4 separate regions of the Homo sapiens genome follow, and regions 2, 3 and 4 are each linked to region 1. Evidence: promoter capture Hi-C in 16 types of primary human blood cells and fetal thymus (Javierre and others, 2016). All regions are on one chromosome and are shown on one strand. Each heading gives the region's core, a stretch centred on a gene start or on the middle of the fragment in contact. The rest is flanking DNA. Distances are from core to core; before and after follow the strand shown. Region 1 holds the start of MYO10 (myosin X). Region 2 overlaps BASP1-AS1 (BASP1 antisense RNA 1). Region 3 has its middle 89 kb from the start of MIR10522. Region 4 overlaps BASP1-AS1 (BASP1 antisense RNA 1).

What was found. Contacts are between HindIII fragments. The CHiCAGO score rates a contact against its expected background, and 5 or more counts as called.
Region 2: a contact is called between a fragment that was not itself captured here and the fragment with the promoter of MYO10 in region 1, in 4 of 17 cell types (endothelial precursors, M0 macrophages, M2 macrophages and 1 more). The highest score is 11.2, in endothelial precursors.
Region 3: a fragment that was not itself captured here is called in contact with the fragment with the promoter of MYO10 in region 1 in 1 of 17 cell types (endothelial precursors); the score reaches 5.6 in endothelial precursors.
Region 4: a fragment that was not itself captured here is called in contact with the fragment with the promoter of MYO10 in region 1 in 5 of 17 cell types (endothelial precursors, M0 macrophages, M2 macrophages and 2 more); the score reaches 8.5 in endothelial precursors.

The regions. Positions count from the first base shown.
Region 1 is chr5:16,934,716-16,937,846 of GRCh38, reverse strand. MYO10 (myosin X) reads left to right here and starts at 1,559. Exons shown (of 41, transcript NM_012334.3): 1 at 1,559-2,059. The coding sequence starts at 2,039. The HindIII fragment of the contact is 4,395 bases long and covers 727-3,131 here.
Region 2 is chr5:17,165,560-17,168,781 of GRCh38, reverse strand. All of the region lies in intron 1 of BASP1-AS1 (BASP1 antisense RNA 1), which reads left to right. LOC105374664 (a long non-coding RNA gene) reads right to left here. Exons shown (of 4, transcript XR_001742614.2): 2 at 2,444-2,532. Among named protein-coding and RNA genes, the nearest start is that of MIR10522, 11 kb to the right of the region's middle. The HindIII fragment of the contact is 2,473 bases long and covers 718-3,190 here.
Region 3 is chr5:17,065,278-17,068,604 of GRCh38, reverse strand. No RefSeq gene overlaps it. Among named protein-coding and RNA genes, the nearest start is that of MIR10522, 89 kb to the left of the region's middle. RefSeq lists an enhancer at 2,125-2,706. The HindIII fragment of the contact is 5,549 bases long and covers 1-3,327 here.
Region 4 is chr5:17,148,282-17,151,265 of GRCh38, reverse strand. The region is part of intron 2 of BASP1-AS1 (BASP1 antisense RNA 1); the gene reads left to right. Among named protein-coding and RNA genes, the nearest start is that of MIR10522, 6.2 kb to the left of the region's middle. RefSeq lists an enhancer at 1-183. The HindIII fragment of the contact is 369 bases long and covers 1,313-1,681 here.

The sequences.
Region 1 (3,131 bases), core at 310-2,809:
ACCCATTTGACTAAGCACTGGGATTGTTGGTATTTATCCTGACTCCATCTTCACTTTCCTTGCGACCTTGGACACAAGCTTTAATGGCTCAGCGCCTTAAGCGTGTAAACCTGTGAAACAGAACAACATTGCACAATATCATTAACTAATTTACACCTTGACTCTTTCTAAAGGGAAGTGAGGTGGGAGCAATGATATTAATGGTGAAGAACTGGACTGGGATAAGTTACAAACATGCTTGACTTTCCCCATAAGGATTACAGAAGGATGTTTCATTCATTCATTCATGCTGTGAGACAGCCTGGGGATACTCATCTTAAAGCACAGTCCTTCCCCAACAGTCTTAGGAATAAATCCTAGAGTGGGCATCTAGCCCAGTGGTTACGGGGAGCTTGGGTGGGGTGAGTGGAGTAGCATCTTTGGGAAGGGTTCCTTCCCCTGGAAGGTGTGACTTTGTGAGCTGAGTTTTAAAGGTTGAGTAGCAGTTGGCAAATTCCCTGGAGAGAGCATCTCAAATCTTTTGTGCTGAAGAACCAGCCATTTTTGTTCCCAGTCGGCCAGGTACCAATACACTGCGGCGCCAGGTGTGACTCACCACGTGAGTCTGACAACACCCAAACTGGTTTATACTCGGTTCAAAGAGTCCACTGATCATGTGCTTGGATGTCGTGGCATTATTAAATTGCTACAAACGTTTACTCTTAATTTCTCTACTTGTTACAAGCTTTCGTTCAGCACAGGACCAGGTAGCACCTGAGGGGCACCTGGAAAGCAGATTGTTCCAGCCTGCGTTCTAACAAGGTTCCCAGGTGACCCTCGCACAGCATAAAGTTAAAAGAACTGCCCTAGGGGAAACGGGACTCAGTGCCAGGTGGGTTTGATCATTCGTCCATCTCAGTGCCATCTGCCATCTCTGCTTCCTTGAGGTCTAGAAAAGGGTTACATTTTTAAAGGTGATATTGGCCACGTCCCCTTCCAGTTTCAAAACTACATTTCCCCGCTGTTACGCAAACGTCTTAAGCAAACCCGACTGCAGGACAGAAAGTCAACACGGGAATGCAGCTTCCAGAAATTCTGATTAGCCTCCGTCTTCCGCTTTGATCTGGCCCCGCAGCCCCGGCAGCTCCGCTGACCGCGCTTCCTTCCCGAGATTGCTAGTCTACCGGGCTGCATTAATGAGATCCGTGTTGAGCCGGTTCCCGGGTCTGCTAAACATGAAAGGCACAGAAGCCCCCAGTCCCTTCTCCTCCCCTCTAAGTGATTGTTTAGTCTCTCTCTGCAGAGGGAAGAGTTAAATCCCCTCCCCACGCCTACGTGGGAAGACCTGGGGAAACACGCGGCCCCCTCCCGGGTCCGCTAACGAGCCTGCGGCTGCTTCGGGCTTAGAGTGGGCGGGGCCTGGTCGGGAAGGGGGCGGGGCGCTCCGCCCGGGCGGGGCCAGACGGTGTGGTTGGCGGAGGGCCAAGCTCCTGGGGGCGGGGCCGCGAGCGGGAGGGCGGGGCCGGCTGCGGGAGGGCGGGGCCGGCTGCGGGAGGGCGGGGCGAGGTCGCTGGGCTGTAGTCCCGCGGGCGAGAGCTGGCTGAGCCGCGGCGCGGGACTGCTCACCTCCAAGCGCTCGCGCGGGGATCGCGGCTCCTGCTCACTTTGCGGCCCGCTGTCCTCCTGCCCGCCCCGAGGGCCCCCGGCCGGAGCGCAGAGGGAGGGGGCCGCGCTCGCCAGCACCCCGCCGCCTTCCCCCGCCTGGGGGAAGAATGTGCCACCAGCTGTTCTCCGCTTGCGAGCGCTGCGCCCAGTAGTGAGGAACTTGGAGGAAGAAGAGACAAAGGCTGCCGTCGGGACGGGCGAGTTAGGGACTTGGGTTTGGGCGAACAAAAGGTGAGAAGGACAAGAAGGGACCGGGCGATGGCAGCAGGGGAGCCCCGCGGGCGCGCGTCCTCGGGAGTGGCGCCGTGACACGCATGGTTTCCCCGGACCCGCGGCGGCGCTGACTTCCGCGAGTCGGAGCGGCACTCGGCGAGTCCGGGACTGCGCTGGAACAATGGATAACTTCTTCACCGAGGTAAGTGCGCTCCCAGTCCGACCTGGCCTCCGGAGCCCAGGGAGAGAGGCGTCTGCCCACCACGCCGCGCGCCCTGGGTACTTTTTCCTAAGCCCTGGAAGGCGCAACTTTCTGGGAGTCTCCTGAAATCACCCCCCATCCCCCCGCGGAGTCTCTGATGAGTAAGCCCGGGCAGGTTTTGTTTCGTCCTGTCCCGCGCTCGCATTTTGCTCCGGGAGGTAGCGAAGGTGCGTTTCCGTTTGCGTGGGTGGCTGGCTCTCGGGGCGCCCTGGGACACCCGCGCCAGGTGAGGCGGCGCGCGCCGGGGCGCGGGCGGGGCGATCCGCCCGCTCGACTGCCCGGGTGCAGGAAGCCCAATAAAATGTTCAGCGGGGACCTGCCTTTCTCCAAGAAAGGTCTTGTCTGGTATTTCCTTTGCAAAACGTGCGGGCTTCCTGTGCAGGGGTTCAAACACTTCCAGAGGAGACGGCTTAATGAAGTGTGAGAAGGAGAGGCAAGGGTTTAATCGGTTACTTTGCTCGCCGAGAAGTGCTCTTTTAAGGCTTGGGATAACTCCAGACCCTGGGATCAAATGATCATGTATTTGTGTAGAGTGTCCATGCAGATTTTGAATTCGAATGTAAAGAAAATTCGTTTAGGGCAAACAGTGGCTATTTTAATAGATGAAACGGATGCCCTCTTTAGGGTCGTTGAGGGTGGGACACTGAAACTTAACTTGAGAACCCTTTTTCCCCCTTTGGGATCGAGACTTACTGTGGTTTCTTGGCTCCCTTTCCTTTCTTGGTTGTGTTTATTTAATAAATTCTGTTTAAGTTTGAGGTTTGAAGTGGCTCAAAGTAAACTTAGTTGACTTGAGAGAGTCTGATGTGATTTTCGTTGAAAGCCAGGGAATGTTTTCTGAGTGCAGAACCGCTTTGGAGTCTTCCAGCAAATCAGATTGATGAGGGCTTGCCTCTGTGTTAGCCGACTTGGTTTATCTGATTTAATTGGATATAATATTTCAAGTCATTCTGCTTTCTGCATGCTCACTGACTGTATTCTCAGACAGCTATTCATACTGGCCAAAGTGATA
Region 2 (3,222 bases), core at 705-3,204, 230 kb before region 1:
TTAGCCAGGCATGGTGGCACATGCCTATAGTCCCAGCTACTCAGGAGGCTGAGGCAGGAGAATCGCTTGACCCCGGGAGGTGGAAATTGCAGTGAGCTGTGAGCTGAGATTGCGCCACTGCACTACAGCCTGGGCGACAGATCAAGACCCTATCTCAGGAAAAAAAAAAAAAAGTTTATCTTCCATATTTTGAGCTGTTAAAACATTTCATGTAATATTCACATAGCAACATGTATTTAGTATCCACTAAATTACTGGAGATACAACTCCAAAGGCATTTGGAGAGAGGAAGAAGACTGACAAATAACTAGGTAGATAATTTTGCCATCACAGAAATGATGGCAGGTCTCTAGAAGCACTAAGGAGACAAAATTGTTTTTCATGGCGGGGTGTCTTATCAAAGATTCACTCAAAATTCATCAATCATCAGTCACCAAATCCTGTAGAATTTACCTCCTAAATACCATCCCCTCTGCCTCTTCCTCTTTATCTCACTGTCCCGACTGCCCCCTCTCCTCTCACTTGCAAAAACCTATCTGCTTCTATCTAGCCTGCCTGCTTCTCATCTCTCTGATACACCATTAAAGCCCAAACTTTCTGGGTCATGTGGCCCTATCAGTAAAAGATTTCTGACCAGGCATCCCCAGTATGACACTTATTTATCAACTCTACACGTGAACTGCTTGCTCTCAGTCATGTGTAAGTATCAGTAAAGCTTAGTGTCTTCTTTATTTTTTTTCAGATTAAAGAATACATCTGTATCCAATTTTCTTGCATACTTTTAGGGGTACAGGCCTCCCCTGTAACATGAGAGACCACTGCTCAAAAAGGCTACAAGAGAAAAGTTTCTGAAATGATATCAACTCATAATTAAGACTCTATAGTCTTTCACTTTGACTTTAAAATAAGCTCAAGGCCCTTCTGGGTTTCCTTTTTTGCCCATGATAGCCTCAGACCTGGCTATAGAGCTAAACAGGGGAATGCTCAGATGAACAGATGCACCTCTCCATCCTCACCCCTCATCCTTTTTCATGCATATCCAGGCCTTTGCTGGAGTCCAGCTGACCTCTCAGCAGGGAAGGAGTTAAGATAGAACAGGCACTGACCACTAACAGCAGTTCTTGACTGCCCTGTGCCAAGTGGTTTTCCAGTTGAGAGCACCCCTGAGGTTTAATTGGCCAAAGTCTGAACTACAATTTTTCAGAAGGATTAAGAAATGTCCCTTTTAAAGCCCATTTCCAGGAGTGTGAGGTGATTATATGACAGATAGGAAACGAGCCTAGGCATCTTTTACCTGCTCCAACTGGCTAGAATAATCTAGCATAAATCCAAAAGGTAATTCCAATATGCATCCCATCACCTAAACTATTCCACATCATTTACATGAAATCATGTAAATCATGACATCATGGTTTCTCCCCAGTTCATAAATCAGCTCTGCCTTCTATAGTCAGTCAAGTTCCCCATGAATGCTACCACCACCAACCCTGCTTTCCACGTAGCAAACCTGACATTTAAACTGAATTTCTCCCTCTCCTTCATGCTCACATCTATTTACCAACACCTCCCCAACCCCGCCTCGGAGAAGTCTTTGAAATCCATCTTTCCTCCTCTGACACTCATTAGTCTAGGCCTTCAGCATGTCTTGCTTGAGGAATTACAATCATCTCCTACTTTGTCCACCAACCTCCAGGTTCTCTGTTTTAGCTCAGTTGCCTAATTATCTTCTTAAACAAAAGTTTAGCTGATATCCATATGCCTCTCTTAGTAAAAACATTTGAGCACACACCTCTAAAATGGGATTATTTAAAAATTATAAACATGCATTACTTTGCTAATATATTTTGCATATTGTAAAATTATATATATATACAAATATAAATTTAAAAGTGTGGCATGGGCCAGGCGTGGTGGCTCACGCCTGTAATCCCAGCACTTTGGGAGGTCGAGGTGGGCAGAACACGAGGTCAGGAGATCAAGACCATCCTGGTTAACACGGTGAAACCCTGTCTCTGCTAAAAATACAAAAAATTAGCCAGGCGTGGTGGCGTGTGCCTGTAGTCCCGGCTACTCGGGAGGCTGAGGCAAGAGAATGGCATGAACGCAGGAGGCAGAGCTTGCAGTGAGCCGAGATCACGCCACTGCACTCCAGCCTGGACGACAAAGCGAGACTCTGTCTCAAAAAAAAAAAAAAAAAAAAAAGTGTGGCATGATCTCTTGTGTCATTGAGGAGGGGTAATGAAACTGTTGTATGTCCTGATTATAGTGATGTTATTATAATAGGTTGCAATAACTTATATGTTTGTGTTAAAATCCAGAAAACTATACACCAATTAAAAAAACTCAATTTTACTGCAGATAAATTTAAAAACTAAATTTTAATGAAAGTATGAGATAAAATTCAAATAGTTGTAATATATTTGCCCACTCCCAACTGGATTACCTTTTGCATCTTTTGAGAAGACACAGCGCCTTTGGGATCACTGAATCACAGGATTAAATTCAAACTCCTCAGACTGGCATTTTTGACTGCTATTGTAAAAGAAATAGCAAAAATTCCTCAAATCATTAAAGGCTTTTTCACCTATTTTGTCATGACTCTACTTCTAGTTACATGGTGTTATGGAAATATTGATAGTGAGTATAAATCATAGTGTGTATAACTGTTATAAAATAGAAGAAGGCTGTTTGTGTTACTCTTCTAGAGCATATAATTGATCTAAATTTGCTTTTGTGACCTGCCCAGCATAATGACAGAGAAAGGCATGGGCTGATGGTGATAAGATTCAGGGAAGAAATATCTACAATGCTAAGTAAAAATCACCTATCAGGCTGGGCGCCTGTAATCCCAGCACTTTGGGAGGCCGAGGCGGGTGGATCACAAGGTCAAGAGATCGAGACCACCCTGGCCAACATGGTGAAACCCCATCTCTACTAAAAATATAAAAATTTGCTTGGCATGGTGGCACGCACCTGTAGTCTCAGCTACTCAGGAGGCTGAGGCAGGAGAATTGTTTGAACCCAGGAGGTGGAGGTTGCAGTGAGTCGAGATCACACCACTGCACTCCAGCCTGGGCTACAGAGCGAGACTGCGTCTCAAAAAAAAAAAAAAAGAAAGAAAGAAAGAAAAAAAAAATCACTGATCAAAGCAAAGGACCCAGAACACTAAGAATATACAGAAGGAGAAGCTTCACAAAAGAAAGTTCAGGAGGAGAGAATGGG
Region 3 (3,327 bases), core at 367-2,866, 130 kb before region 1:
GACCTTAATTAATCTTTTTAGGATTGGGAGGGTCTAGAAGAAAAAGATCTAGCTATGTTAATAGCAATTCTTTACAGACGCAAATTTTCCCCCACAAAGAACAGCTTTGCAGGGTCATTTCAAAATATGACAAAGAAACATGTTTTGGGGTAAAATATTTTTATTTTCTTCTTTGTCTCGTAATGTTATGCCAGAGTCAGGTTGGGAAGCAAATCATGATATATAGGGTCAAATAAAACCCATCTGATGAGAATTTATGTTCGTAGGGCATGACTGGACCCCTTAGATAGGAATTTGGGCAAGAAAAAAAAAATCAGAGTTTAGTCTTCAGTCCCCACTCTTGGCCGAAAAGCATTCCATAGCATGCATATACAGGCCAAACAGCAACAGGTCCCACAGTGCTAGGAAGGCTCATTCCTAGAGTTATCTGATTTGGTCATTTGGCGAGGTCTCTCAGTGCTAGGAAGGCTCATTCCTGGAGTAGTCTGGTTGGTGGTAACAGTTTTAAAATATTAGCGATTTGGATCATGGGGGAGAGGACACGGTCTGACCTGATATAATAGCCAATTGTTTAAGGGGTGAGATGAAGTCAGGCCTAGGGTTTAGTCTGGAAAAAAAAAAAAAAAAAAAAAAATCTGGCAACAGATCCATTTTGTGAGCTATCATGATCTGGGTCTTCAGTTGTGCCTTTTTCCTTTTGCTGTATCTGGCGTAACATTTACAGGAGCTATATAATGCTAATACAGTGACAAATATCATAAAGATAGCAAAGATTAGGCATCCAATAAGATTATGAGTCAGAGAGCAGTAAACAACCTAACCAGCCCAAAAAAGTCACTGCACGCAGCATCATATTCTTTGATTAGACTCACAATGTGTTTACCCTCCTTATAAAGGGTCACTCGAATTTTATGATTAAAAAAAAATTTTTTTTTTTTTTTTTTTGACACGGAGTCTCGCTCTGTCACCAGGCTGGAGTGCAGTGGCACGATCTCGGCTCACTGCAAGCTCTGCCTCCCAGGTTCAAGCGATTCTCCTGCCTCAGCCTCCCAAGTAGCTGGGACTACAGGTGCCTGCCACCACACCCGGCTAATTTTTGTATTTTTAGTAGAGACAGGGTTTCACCATGTTGCCCAGGATGATCTCGATCTCTTGACCTCATGATCCGCCCCCCTCGGCCTCCCAAAGTGCTGGGATTACAGGTGTGAGCCACTGCGCCGGGCCGAACTTTATGATAAATCTTACTTGAAGATTGTAGAACCAACATTAACTCAGAATCCAATAAATTTAATATCTCTCCTAGCCAATTTATCTCCATAGGTATAACATCCTGAGAAGAGTATAAATCACGTGCAAGGAATGCCTGGTCCTAAATGTCTAAATTGTTATAGACTTGTTAACAGTAGACAAATCTATTTTTCCTACCACCTTCGTATTGCACATATACTGGTATTTGGGAAAGGAAAGGAGGTTTTGTCACAGAAGTCATAATTGCGCTCCAGCCAGAGCAACAAGAGCGAAACTCCGTCTCAAAAAAAAAAAAAAAAAAAGAGTCAAAAGGCTTATAGCCAATTAATTGTTCTAGGCCAGATAGGAATGGATGTGGACAAGCATTTGTTACTTCTTAAAATTATTAAGTTAAAAAGCCAACAACAAAACCAAAAGGAAAAGTTACAAGACCGACTTATTTTTAACTTCTATGTGTTGAACTCCTGTGAGCTTGGTTTTTGTTACAGATATATAGCAATTAACTACACAAAATATAAGCATTGTTCTGAAAAATACAGATAGAGAGACAGAGATTTATCTTCACAACTCATAATTGGGAGTGTTATACCTAGGAGGCTTGTTATAAGGGATTTTTTTTTTTTTTTTTTTTTTTTTTGAGATGGAGTCTCACTCTGTCACCCAGGCTGGAGTGCAGTGGCAGGACCTCAGCTCACTGCAAGCTCCGCCTCCCGGGTTCACGCCATTCTCCTGCCTCAGCCTCCCAAGTAGCTGGGACTACAGGTGCCCGCGACCACACCCAGCTAATTTTTTGTATTTTCAGTAGAGACGGGGTTTCACCGTGTTAGCCAGGACGGTCTCAATCTCCTGACCTCGTGATCCGCCCACCTCAGCCTCCCAAAGTGCTGGGATTACAGGCGTGAGCCACTGCGCCCAGCCTGTTACAAGGTATTTTCATCCTGTTAGTAAATAATTGTCTTTAACTCTATAGTAAGTGTCAGGCCTCTGAGCCCAAGCCAAGCCATCGCAACCCCTGTGACTTGCATGTATACTTCCAGATGGCCTGAAGTAACTGAAGAATCACAAGAGAAGTGAATATGCCCTGCCCCGCCTTAACTGATAACATTCCACCACAAAATAAGTGTGAATGGCCGGTCCTTGCCTTAACTGATGATATTCCACTACAAAAGTAGTAAAAATGGCCGGTCCTTGCCTTAAGTGATGACATTACCTTGTGAAATTCCTTCTCCTGGCTCATCCTGGCTCAAAAGTCTCCCCCACTGAGCACCTCGTGACCCCCACTCTGCCCACCACAGAACAACTCCCCTTTGACTGTAATTTTCCTTTATCTACCCAAATCCTATAAAACAGCCCCACCCTTATCTCCCTTCGCTGACTCTCTTTTCAGACTCAGCCCACCTGCACCCAGGTGAAATAAACAGCTTTACTGCTCACACAAAGCCTGTTTGGTGGTCTCTTCACACGGACGCGCATGAAAGTAGGCAGAATATTTTTTGGTTGGGGTGGATGTAAAAGCGACACATAATAGTTTAGAAGACAACTAAACTTGCTTTACCAGCTGTTTAGGCATTTTTGTACCTCCTTCTTGATTTGGAGGGTTTGACCTTGACCTAATTTTTTCCCACAAAGCCAGCTCTTACAATCTTACACACCCACCTCTTCAGCAATAGTCCCTGGGCCCAGAGGGAGGCAGCTTGGATAGTTCTGGCAGCAGAGCATTAGCAGCGAAACAGATGTGGGGTCAGTGGGATGCCAAACAACGGAGACTCATATCTCTGGTCTTCAAAATACCATGATTTTGGTTTCCTTGGAAGTAAAACAAGGAGAAATAAATAACATTTACAGTTTGAGAATTACAAGAGTAATTCATATGTCAGAATAGAAAAAGGAACCTATTCCATTAGGGCACCAAATAAAAATATGAAAAAAATTATAATCTGGGTTTTTTTTGTTGTTTTTTTTTTGAGATGGAGTCTTGCTCTGTGCCCCAGGCTGGAGTGCAATGGCACCATCTTGCTCACTGCAACCTCTGCCTCCCAATTTCAAGCGATTCTCCTGCCTCAGCCTCTCGAGTAGCTG
Region 4 (2,984 bases), core at 248-2,747, 210 kb before region 1:
TATGCCGGACACGGTGGCTCACGCCTGTAATCCCAGCACTTTGGGAGGTCGAGGCAGGTGGATCACTTGAGGCCAGGAGTTCGAGACCAGCCTGGAAAACATGGAGAAACACTGTCTCTACTAAAAATGCAAAAATTAGCTGGGTGTGGTAGTGCACACCTGCAATCCCAGCTACTTGGGAAGCTGAGGTAGGAAAGTCGCTTGAACCCAGGAGTTGCAGTAAGCCGAGATCGCACCACTGCACTCCAGCCTGGGCAACAGGGCAAGACTCCGTCTCTAAAAAAAAAGAAAAGAAAAAAGAAAAGAAAATATAATACCAATTTACTAGGTATTGAAGGAGGAAGGGAAAAGAGCTTGTGCTAACTCATTTGACCTTGGAATTGAATCCTCACCTTATGTTTTCTCCAGGGAAGACATATTCTGAAGAATACCAAGATAAAGTATAACAAGAGCTCATCAGCCCAGGATTTGGGTGACGTAGATTCTGGCTTCCATTCTGATGTTAGCTGGAATACACAACGTTCTCTTCATCTACATCCACTTTTAACTTCTCCAAGGACTTCTCTGTGAGAACTGCCAACTCATATGGTAGCCCTGGCTGCCATTTTTGGAGCCCATGCCATGTTCTGACATCTGGAATTCGGCAGTTGTGCCTGCTCTTTCTCAGAAATAGAACTATCATCACAAAGAAAGCTATTTTGGTGGGAAATTTTAAAAGATGGTTTAAACTATAAATTCCACCCTTAAAATTTTTTAATCACAAACAACTTTCAAATATAAATACAAGTAGTCTCCAGTTTTTAAACTAAGCGTATCATATATATAATTCATAATTAATTACTGGCCATGCACAATAGCTCAGGCCTATAATCCCAGCACTTTGGGAGGCCGAGGTAGGAGGATCACTTGAGCTCAGGAGTTCCAGACCAGCCTGAGTAACATAATAAGACCTCGTCTCTACTAAAAATAAAAAATTAGCCAGGCGTGAGGGTGTATACTTGTAGTCCCAGCTAATCAGGAGGCTGGTACGAGAAGATGGCCTGAGCCCGGGAGATTGAGGCTGCAGTGAGCTATGATCGCATCACTGCATTCCAGCCTAAGCAACAGAGCAAGACCCTGTCTCAAAAAATTAAAATAAAGTAAAAACAAACAAACAAAAAATTCACTACCTCAATGGAAGCAATAGTAAAAATAAACATTAGTTCAGCTCAGTAAAAATATCTTGAATGCCCACTGTGTCCCAATCACTATTCAGACCCCAGAGGTACCAGCTGTTCTTCCTAAGCAGCTGATAATTTTGCAGAGAGAAGCTTCCTAGGCCAAAGCATAAAAGCCTATTCAACCCATATACAACTCTGGTAACTCTAACCATCACTTGTAACACCTTTGTACTAAGGGAAAAACATATTCTTAGTTAAACTTCTGGATATCAGATACATGTCTCTCTCTCAGCTCTTGAAGTGAATTAGGGAAGGTCTATAGATACTTCCAGAAAGCAGAAACTTGCTTAATGGAAAATATTGTCCAATACTTTTATTACTGAGCAAGATAAAAAAGGGTTTCCATACGAGCATTATGTTCAAGTTATGTTCAGCAGCGTTAAGAGCTATTGCCCAAAGGCTCCATGACCGCAGAAGTTTGGTAAAGAGTAAGTTTTAACAAGTTCCTTCACTGAGAAGCTTATTAAATACTTCAATATATTATTATGACTTTTATATCTCAAAAAAAAAAACAACAATGCAAGCATACTTAATACCACTGAACTGTACGCTTAGAAATACAGTCATGGGTCAGGTAGAGTGACTCACGCCTGTAATCCCAACACTTTGGGAGGCTGAGGTGGATCACTTGAAGCTAGAAGTTCGAGACCAGCCTGGACAACATGGTGAAACCCCGTCACTACTAAAAATACAAAAATTAGCCGGGCATGGTGGCGTGCGCCTATAGTCCCAACTACTTGGGAGGCTGAGGCAGGAGAATTGCTTGAACCTTGGAGACAGAGGTTGCAGTGAGCCAAGATTGCACAACTGCACTCCAGGCTGGGTGACAGAGCAAGACCCTGTCTCAAAAAAAAAAAAAAGAAAAAGAAAAAAGAAACAGTTGTTTTGCTTAATGATGAGGATACATTTGGAGAAATGCATTGTTAGGCTATTTCATCACTGTGTTAACATCAGAGAGTGTACTCACACAAACCCAGACGCTATAGCCTACTACACACCTAAGCTACATGGTAGAGCCTATTTCTCCTAGGCTACAAACCTGTACAACAGGTTACTGTACTGAAGACTATAGGGAACTGTAACACAATGGTAAATTTTTGTATATCAAACATATCAAAGCATAGATAATGTAAATATATGATATTATAATCTTACAGGAACACCATGATATATGAGGCCCACTATTGACCAAAATGTCATTATGCAGCACATGACTATAATTAAGATGGTAAATTCTAAGTTATGTGTTTTTTTACCACAATTTTTTTTTTAAATGAAAACAAGAGGAAGAGGTTTCTAAGATTCTTTGACTACAGAACCATGTTGTGCTCAGTGTTTCTCTTAGGGATGAGTGTACAATGACTGAGCACCTTGATATTCTCAGGGCTAGGGGCCTTCCTAGGATGTAGGACTTTTAGTGATAAAACCAGAGCATTCTGGGCAAATACAGACAATTGGCTACCCTACCTAAAGAAGCCCTGAGCACAACTTGGAAATGTTTCCATGTGTCAATAAATTTGGGGGCGATTAGAATAGAAAAACAAAGGTTGTTAGACAGGGTATGGTGGCTCATGCCTGTACTCCCACCACTTTGGGAGGCTGAGGTGAGAAGACTGCTTGGGGCCAGGAGTTTGAGACCAGCCTGGGCAACACAGACACCATCTCTACAAAAATGTTAAAACTGGGCAAGATAGCACATGCCTGTCGTCCCAGCTACTCAGGAGGCCAAGGCAAGAGGATCACTTGAGCCCAGGAGTTTGAAGC